Regions from separate parts of the Homo sapiens genome. Here all the other regions are linked to region 1. Evidence: promoter capture Hi-C in 16 types of primary human blood cells and fetal thymus (Javierre and others, 2016). All regions are on one chromosome and are shown on one strand. Each heading gives the region's core, a stretch centred on a gene start or on the middle of the fragment in contact. The rest is flanking DNA. Distances are from core to core; before and after follow the strand shown. Region 1 holds the start of MAPK7 (mitogen-activated protein kinase 7). Region 2 overlaps ULK2 (unc-51 like autophagy activating kinase 2). Region 3 has its middle 14 kb from the start of SLC47A2.

Region 1 (2,868 bases), core at 238-2,737:
ACATTTCCCCAAAGGAGACAAATGGCCAATAAGCACATCAAATCAATGTCAATCTTGCATGTATTGACTTATGTATTATGTCTTCCTGAAATGTATAAAGGCTGACTATGCCCCGACCATCTTGGGCACATGTTGTAGGACCTCCTGAGGCTGTCACCACCATGTCCTTAACATTGGCAAAATAAACTTTCTAAATTGACTTGAGACTTGTCTCAGATACTTGGTTCACATAGGTTTCTTTTAGGGGCGATGAAAATGTTCCATAAACCACTCTACCTAAAATTAGGTAGTGATGATGGCTGCTCAACTGTGAATATACCAAAAAACACTGAATTGTACACTATAAAAGGATGAGTTTTATGGTATGTTATTAAAAGTTGTTTAAAAGTGAGGGACCCCTCCAGTTATTGATATGGAATGATCTTCAGGAAAAGAGCATAATATGCTACATTTTTGTACACCAAAGGGGAGGTAGGTACGAATATGCATACATATTGCTTTTTTCTAGAAGCCGCCTAGGAGTGAAACCAAAATTCTTCACTTCTTTTCGGCCCTACCTCGAGCTCCCTTTAGAAAACCTTTCCTTCCAGCTCACAGTATCCACCATGTCCACCTTCGCCTCCCGGCACTGAGCCTTAGAGGGGCGGTGCTCCATAAACATTTGCTACATGAATGAACGAATAAACTATCGGATTTTGGGGTGGGTCGGGACAGCTCGGTTCCAGCGAGGGCTCCGCCCACCCGCGGGCTCCGCAGAGGAGCAGAGGTTGGGCGGCCGCCTCGGTTAACTCCGCTGCAGCCCAAAGCACGGGAATCGCGGGACAGACAAACGAGCGGAGGGAAGATACCTAGAAGCCAGGAAACCGCGAGCTGCAGTCCAACTTGGCCGGAAGCTGCGGAGAGGCTCAGCCACCGGAAGTCAGTGGAGGGTTCGGCCGGACGCTCTAGAATCCCGGAGGACCGGGATCTCTGTGGTTGGCCGTGACGGGCACCCTCTACCGGGGATGACACATTCCCAGAGCTCCTGGGACCAAGCAAATGGCGGACACAATTCCCTGGGCGGAAGGGGACTTCGGGAGCCAGTAGCCAAGGTAACAGTCCCAGACCTGGGCATCTCAGGCCGGGCAGTTCCCCGAGCTCACGGGACTAGCTGTGATTGGCCGGATGAGGTTGAGAGCTTCATGGGGACGCGCGCGCTACGTGCAGGGGCGTTGCCTTCCATTCACTTGGCGCCCGACTGCCAGTGCGCATGCGTTTGAAGGCGGTGCAGGGCGGGGAGCACACCCCTGCGAAGTGCCGGGCACCCTTTGGGCGGCTCCCGCCGGCGAGCTGGACAGCGGCGCGCGCCAGGCGTGGCTTTCTCGGCCGGTGGGCTAGGATTGGACGCAGTAGGTAGAAGGGGCAGGACCCTCCGCAGCAGTAGCTCAGCGATTGGCCAGGAGCTGGAGGGAGCGTGGCCTTGGGAGGCGGGGCGGAGGGGGACGGACAGGGCAGCTCAAGACGCTGAGGTGGTGGCTGCGGCCTTTGAACAAGTAAGTGAGCCACCCTCGGAGACCCCCGCGCTGGGGACGGGAGGCCGGCGAGCCTCGGGACCTCTGAAAGCCTTGAGGAGGCGCGGGGGTGAGTGCGGCCCTGAGGAAACCCAGGTGCCCCGCCCCTCCCTTTCTTCCTGGCCCGCGCCTCGCCTACCCCTCCCCCGACCCTGGCGGGCCCCCGGCTCTGGGCCCGGACCCCTGGGGTAGCTAGTCTGCCACGAACCAGCCGCGCGCTTCTGCCCTTGTCGGTTTAGGAAACTGGGAAGTTCCCTGGTCCTGCTCCCCAGCCCGCAGAGGGGACACTGAGGCCCACGGTAGGTGGTCCTCTCCTCACCCGAGTCTCCACACAGACACCATGGCCGAGCCTCTGAAGGAGGAAGACGGCGAGGACGGCTCTGCGGAGCCCCCCGGGCCCGTGAAGGCCGAACCCGCCCACACCGCTGCCTCTGTAGCGGCCAAGAACCTGGCCCTGCTTAAAGCCCGCTCCTTCGATGTGACCTTTGACGTGGGCGACGAGTACGAGATCATCGAGACCATAGGCAACGGGGCCTATGGAGTGGTGTCCTCCGCCCGCCGCCGCCTCACCGGTGAGCTTCCTGAGCCGTCGCCTCCCAGATGTGGCAGCGTCGCAGGGAGTGGGAAACCGGCCTGTCCCAGACAGCCGGGAAGGAAAGCGGGGTGCGAGTTCTGGCTCCAGTCAACACACACTGACCAGGGCCTTCTGCCTGCCAGGCTCCGGGGAGGCTCGGTTCTCTGAAACTCCGGCCTGGTGGTTTTGCCATCCTGCCTGCCTACTTCCTCCTTAGGAAAATGATAGTCCCAGTTAGACCAGAATGGAGAGCCAGTCCTTCGTGTCTAAGAGAGAAATGTGTTCTGGAGCCAGACACTGGCATAAGGAACTGGTGGTGGGATGGGTGAGGTCTGAGATGGAGAGGGTGTAGGCATAAGAGGCTGAGCTACACCACTGGGCATCCGTGCAACCTCCAACAAGTTACTAAGCCATATTTCCTTCTCTTTAACGTTGACCTATTGGGACCTGCCCCGCAGGGGAGTTGTGAAGGTAACATTTAATAATGTAGGTAACATGCTTAGCACAGGGCTTGGCACATAGTAGGTACCCAATACTTGGTAGCTGTTGTCATTTGCATCCTAGAAGGGAGGTGTTGATAGGGGCTGAGTCGACTCTGCAGTTTCTCCAAGGTATCCTCTGGTATGTCCCTTTTCCCTGCTCCTCAGGCCAGCAGGTGGCCATCAAGAAGATCCCTAATGCTTTCGATGTGGTGACCAATGCCAAGCGGACCCTCAGGGAGCTGAAGATCCTCAAGCACTTTAA
Region 2 (2,868 bases), core at 183-2,682, 420 kb after region 1:
CAAGATCATGCCACTACACTCCAGCCTGGGCAACAGAGCGAGACTCCATTTCAAAAAAAAAAAAAAAAAGTATTATTAATCAATAGTATTAAAGTAATAAAATTTCACTCCATAAATAAATTTCATTATCTATGTGAAAATAACCAAAACTTAGCCAAGTTATTTAATTTCTAAGACTTATTTTCATTAAGGAATCTCATATCCAAAAGGAGGTAGTAGATTAGCTTTATGACATATTAAACCACATTAGACCAAGATTCTAAAAATCAGGATGGCAGAGGAGATATTTCATATCAATTCTGTTCTTTGATAAAACTAGAAAAACACAACTCAAATCCATTTATAATACAATTCAAATTATTAATAAACCAAATACATTATCCTACCTGAGGAGTTTCTACTCCTGGAGTCATGGCCCTGAGGATGCCCACAGCAGCACTGACTGAATTGCTCAGGAATGGTACCAACTACAAAAAAAAAAAAAAAAAAGATGGGGAAAGGAAGAAAAATGATCAAAAACCAATAAAAGATGGCAACAGGCAACACATGCACAAATTGCACAGTAAACTACTGGTTAGAAAATTTTAAGTAACAAACGTTTAGTTCAACTAACATTTACTGGACAACCAATCCGCTGGGTGCTGCACACTAAGATAAAAAGTATCATATAATCTGCCTTGAAATAAGAACATTAGGGGAAGAAAAACCACATAAACAAATAAATGCTCCTAACAGGTATGTCCATAAGACAGGTAAGCACAAAGAGTTTGTACAAAGTGTCCGGGCTTGTGGAGCTGCAGGGCACAGCTAACAGAGAGCCCCAGCTGCAGTCCCTCTGGTGCCAAGGCTAGGCTTCCCCCAGGGCTGTTCCCAGCCAATGACTGCATATGGTGGGACACTAATTCAGGCTTGTTGAAGCGGGTCAGGGAATTCCTCTAACAAGACAATCCAGTGCTTGGGGCTACTTCTTCAGTCTGGCTGAAACCTTCTCAGACCTACACCACAGTCTGAGACTCTTCCTGGCCAGCTCTTCCTCCTTCCTGCCCTCCTTTTCCAGGTGTTGGACCTATGTCTTGGTCTGAGGGCCCTCCCTGCTTCCTCCTGCTCCTCCCCTTCATTCTTCACAGAAGTTTCCCCAAGTCACTCTCTTGTATATCTAATATGTTCTATGCATCCATTTCTCTGAGAATTAAAACTAACACAGAGAGAGAGAGTTAGGGAAGGCTTCAGGCAGTTTAAGCAGATGAGAAACATGTCTATATCAAGAGGGCTCATTCCAAGGGATTAAGCAGCGGGCAGAGATCAGATCCTTAGGGAAGGGCTTTATCCTTGTGTGCAAGGATGAGATTTGGACCTTATCTTTGGAGACCTTGAAGTACCTCAGGGGCTGCTACAGGGGTGAGAAAGGGCCAAAATTTTATTTAAAGATTTTTCATCTAAAAACAGCTTTGAAACCATTGCAACAGGTAATGTGGCAATTTAAACTTCTTTCTTTTTCTTAACACTGTCATTGTGTGTTTTGTCTTGTTTTAAACAGGGCTCCTGAGGAAAGCCCTTCTCTTTGTCTCTGGAGACTTCTTCCTGTTCCATCTTAGTGTTACTTCAGCAGTTCTGACTGAAGGTGGGGCCCTCTCCTGGAAGTATTTTTTTTACAGTTTTGAGATTTGCCACCCCCAGGCCCTGCGTGCACCACCTGTTCTTCCCACCACCTCAGTGCTGCCTCTCATACAGCTGCTGTAGTCTCAATGGCTTTGGCTCTCTCACACATATTTCTGCAGTTTGAGCTTTTATTTCTGTCCCTTGGTTTCACTGAAGATATGGTACATGGTTTGTTTTTCCTTTTGGTAGGGTTTTTGTTGTTTCTGGTGTTTTGTTTGTATTGGCATTCTCCTTATTACGGTACCAGGAGAAGTGGGAAGATCTGTAACAAAGCTGCCACCACATGCCTACCAGAACTGGAAGGTTTCTGGTAATTGTGACCCAGAGCTGCTATACAGTAATCCTTATAAGTATGAGTGATAAGTAGAAAAGGCATTTTATGCACTTCAACCTAGGGTTTCTGACTTTGCATTTAGAGCCCAATCCCAAAGGAGATGCTTTTTATACATAAATTACATTTATATTATTGTATTTCCAGTAGAGATCCTAACAAATTTATACAGAGATTCTCAAAAAGAAGTTGGGGCCGGGCGCGGTGGCTCACACCTATAATCCCAGCACTTTGGAAGGCCAAGGCGAGTGGATGCTTGAGCCCAGGTGCTCGAGACCAGCCTGGGTAACATAGTGAAACTTTGTCTCCGTAAAAATAAAAAAGTAAAAAAAATTAGCTGGGTGTGGTGGCATGCGCCTGTAGTTCCAGCTACTTGGGAGACTGAGGTGAAAAGATCCTTTGAACCTGGGAAGCAGAGGCTGCAGTGAGCCGAGATCATGCCCCCTGCACTCCAGCCTGGGCGACAGAGTGAGACCTTGTCTCAAATAGAGAAAGAAAAGGAAAAAGAAAAGAAAAGAGGGAGTTGGGATTGGGGTAAAGATGGAGGGACGGGGTATGGCCTCCAATCAGCTGAGAATCACTGCCATCATGAGCCGAAGTTCCTAAAGAAAATGTGTCATGTCAGATTTATTACAGTGAAAAAAAGGTTGAAAACAACTGTTTTTAAACTCTACTTACCCAAAGGGGAAGGTGAGTAAGGCCTAGAAGACCCAGTGGAGAGCCTTCGTCCAACTGTCTGTGCTGTGTCTGCTGGTACTGGGGAGCATGATCCCGGCCGGAGGAAGCCCATGGGGCTGGTGTTGGACCTTCGTACCACTGCAGATCTGAAAAGTAAATTATTCCTTCTATAAAAGGTTCTAGAACTCTCTTTTTATTCC
Region 3 (2,868 bases), core at 206-2,705, 350 kb after region 1:
GGCTGGACTCAAACTCCTGACCTCAAGTGATCCGCCCGCCTCAGCCTCCCAAAGTGCTGGCATTACAGGCGTGAGCCACCGCTCCCGGCCGACAGGGAGTTCTTGACTTTCACAGTTGCAGGGTGGCCTCAGGTGGGTGGTGTGTGTGCGCAGGGATCTGCACAAAGACTGGCGTTGCGCGGGTGTCTACAGTCTGGAGGCCCTGCTGACGCCCTGCAGTCCTGGGGAGGAAGAGACTTGGAGGGAGGAGGTGCTGGGAGGTCTAAGCAGAAGTCTCAGGAGAACAAGCCCGCCCTGTTCAGGAGACACTGGAACAAGGAGTACACCAAGCGGTAAGAGGAGGAGAGATAAGAGGCTCTCAGATGTAAGTAATGGGAAATGCTTCAAAATGGCAAAATGGCTTGAGGAAAAGAAAATTTGTTAAAGGGAAGGCAGCTCCAGCAGCTCATTCACATCCCAGAGCAGCCCAGGGGCATCATCTCCCTACTAAGCCGGTCTCAGCCCGCCGGCCTCGCCTCAGGGCTGTCCTCATGGCCACAAGATGGCTGTGCATTCCAAGTTCACAACCAGACATGCCACTCTCTGGCGGGAGAGGGGTCGCCCTTTCTTGTGCATCTGTTTTTATTGGTGCTATGATCTGAATGTTTGTGTCCCCCTAAGCATTCAGGTGTTGAAATCCTTGTCCCCAGTGTGATGGTATTAGGAGTTTGGGGCCTTTGGGAGGTGATTAGTGCCCTTACAAAAAAGGCCTGAGGGGCCGGGCAGGTGCCTGTAATCACAGCACTCTGAGAGGCTGAGGCGGGCAGATCACTTGATGTCGGGAGTTTGAGACCAGCCTGGCCAACATGGTGAAACACCATCTCTACTAAAAATACTCTACTAAAAATTAGCTGGGCGTGGTGGTGCACGCCTGTAATCCCAGCACTTTGGGAGGCCAAGGTGAGTGGATCACTTGAGGCCAAGAGTTCGAGACCAGCCTGACCAACATGGTGAAACCCCATCTCTACTAAAAATACAAAAATTAGCTGGGCGTGGTGGTACACACCTGTAATTCCAGCTACTCGGGAGGCTGAGGCAGGAGAATCACTTGAACCCGGGAGGTGAAGTTTGCAGTGAGCCAAGATTGTGCCACTGCACTCCAGCCTGGGTGACAGAGTGAGACTCTGTCTAAAACAAAAAACAAAAAACAAACAAATAACATATAACCCAGATATAGTGATGCCCTGGCTCTAGCCTAGAACATAGGATGAAAATCTCAGGATCCTAAGCATCATCATTTTTAAAGAAATTTTCAAAATTGAATTCTGTTAACAATGAGGGAGGAGGAACAGATTTGCACAGGCAACAGCAGTGTTTGCCACGCTTGCTCAGTCCAGGCAGTCAGTCCAGCCACTCAAGGTGACTCCAGAGAAATTTTGGGAAAGAAGGGGACTCAGAGAAGGAGCCACCCTGCTGTCCCCTGGGCAGGGCTGGCCCACAGCAGAGGCGGAGCTGAGTCCAAGCCTGGCACCAGTCCTCCCTGCAGCCTTCTGGAGTGTGAGCTGGTGAAGTTCCTTTTTTAAACTTTTTGAATCTTAGTTTGCTGCTATTTCAACATCATCCTGACAGATTGGGATCCGGGAAATGTCACCCGCTCAGCCTTGAGTACCCCAAAGTGGGATGAGCAGAGAGGTGGCCAAGGAGTAGAGGGGAGTCCCGGCAGAGCAGTGAGGGCTCTGGAGCCGGGGGCCCCACATTCAAGGCAGATGGTGTGGGAACTGCCTGGATGGCAGCAGTTGGGGGAGAGGGGACAAGAGTCATTGCAGGTCAGGGTTGGAGCTCAGGGGCCCGTGCCCTACCTTTCCCTCAGGCAAGTCCTCAACCAATGGTCTCTAAACACCAGCACACCCCTCATGACCTGCATGGCGTGGCCTGGCTTTGTAGGGTAGTTCTCATGTCACTTTATTCCTGTGTTTATTGTCTTTCTCTGTCCATGCAGCAGGGACATTTGCTGCTCAACAAATAACGACTGCTCCTCCACAGTTCCCAGAACCCTTTCAGCTCTGGGCTGTGGTCCTGGCCAGTGGGCTATGAGTGGAGGTGATCTGGGGTGGCCTCTCCAGTTCTCCCTTCCCTGCTTTGGTGAACCCCTAGCCCTGCACTGAGATGGTGAAGGCTCTGTCAGCTCCTCTCTGGTTGACCTTGTGGAGCAGAGCTCCCCCAACCTCCTCTGTAGCCGCCGCCATTCTGAGGTTAACTTGTTCCTGCCGCATAACCCTGCAGGTCCTGCCGAAGACGCTCCCATCAAGGTGAGCTCCTCGAGCGCAGTCCCCGCCACGACTGCCTGCTGGAGGAACCCATAGGTGGGCGCAATCTTCCCTTCTGCTCTAGAACATCAGGAGACAGAGGGCATCAGCAATGCAACAGAGACGGAAGCCTTTTATGGCTTGAGACTTTGCCTTTTAGTTTCCTGTTTGGGAGAGACTCTACATTTTCTTTTGTTTTGCTTTGTTTTTTTGTTTGTTTGTTTTGAGACAGAGTCTCACTCTGTCACCCAGGCTGGAGTGTAGAGATGCTACCTTGGCTCACTGCAACATCTACCTCCTAGGTTCAAGCGATTCTCCTGCCTCAGCCTCCAGAGTAGCTGGATTACAGGCACCTGCCACCACACCCAGCTAATTTTTGTATTTTAGTAGAGAAGGGGTTTCACCATGTTGGTTAGGCTGGTCTCAAACTCCTGACCTCAAATGATCTGCCCGCCTCAGCCTCCCAAAGTGCTGGGATTACATACATTTTTTTTTTAATCTGAGAATCTAAACACCAGGAGCAATCAATGGACTCAACAATGGCATGCTATGGCTGTGGCTCCTGGGCAGAAGTAGGCCCCCT

Evidence for each region. The method cuts DNA at HindIII sites, captures the fragments that hold promoters and counts their contacts. A CHiCAGO score of 5 or more calls a contact.
Region 2: a fragment that was not itself captured here is called in contact with the fragment with the promoter of MAPK7 in region 1 in 1 of 17 cell types (naive B cells); the score reaches 5.7 in naive B cells.
Region 3: a fragment that was not itself captured here is called in contact with the fragment with the promoter of MAPK7 in region 1 in 2 of 17 cell types (M1 macrophages and M2 macrophages); the score reaches 5.7 in M1 macrophages.

The regions. Positions count from the first base shown.
Region 1 is chr17:19,377,011-19,379,878 of GRCh38, forward strand. It overlaps MAPK7 (mitogen-activated protein kinase 7), which reads left to right and starts at 1,488. Exons shown (of 7, transcript NM_002749.4): 1 at 1,488-1,620; 2 at 1,886-2,122; 3 at 2,772-2,868. The coding sequence starts at 1,891. It also overlaps a transcript of B9D1 not described here. RefSeq lists silencers at 564-613, 1,324-1,383, 1,454-1,713 and an enhancer at 884-1,113. The HindIII fragment of the contact is 26,192 bases long and covers 1-2,868 here.
Region 2 is chr17:19,799,109-19,801,976 of GRCh38, forward strand. It overlaps ULK2 (unc-51 like autophagy activating kinase 2), which reads right to left. Exons shown (of 27, transcript NM_014683.4): 16 at 2,669-2,814; 17 at 387-467. Among named protein-coding and RNA genes, the nearest start is that of ALDH3A1, 52 kb to the left of the region's middle. The HindIII fragment of the contact is 3,751 bases long and covers 1-2,868 here.
Region 3 is chr17:19,729,565-19,732,432 of GRCh38, forward strand. No RefSeq gene overlaps it. Among named protein-coding and RNA genes, the nearest start is that of SLC47A2, 14 kb to the left of the region's middle. The HindIII fragment of the contact is 5,355 bases long and covers 1-2,868 here.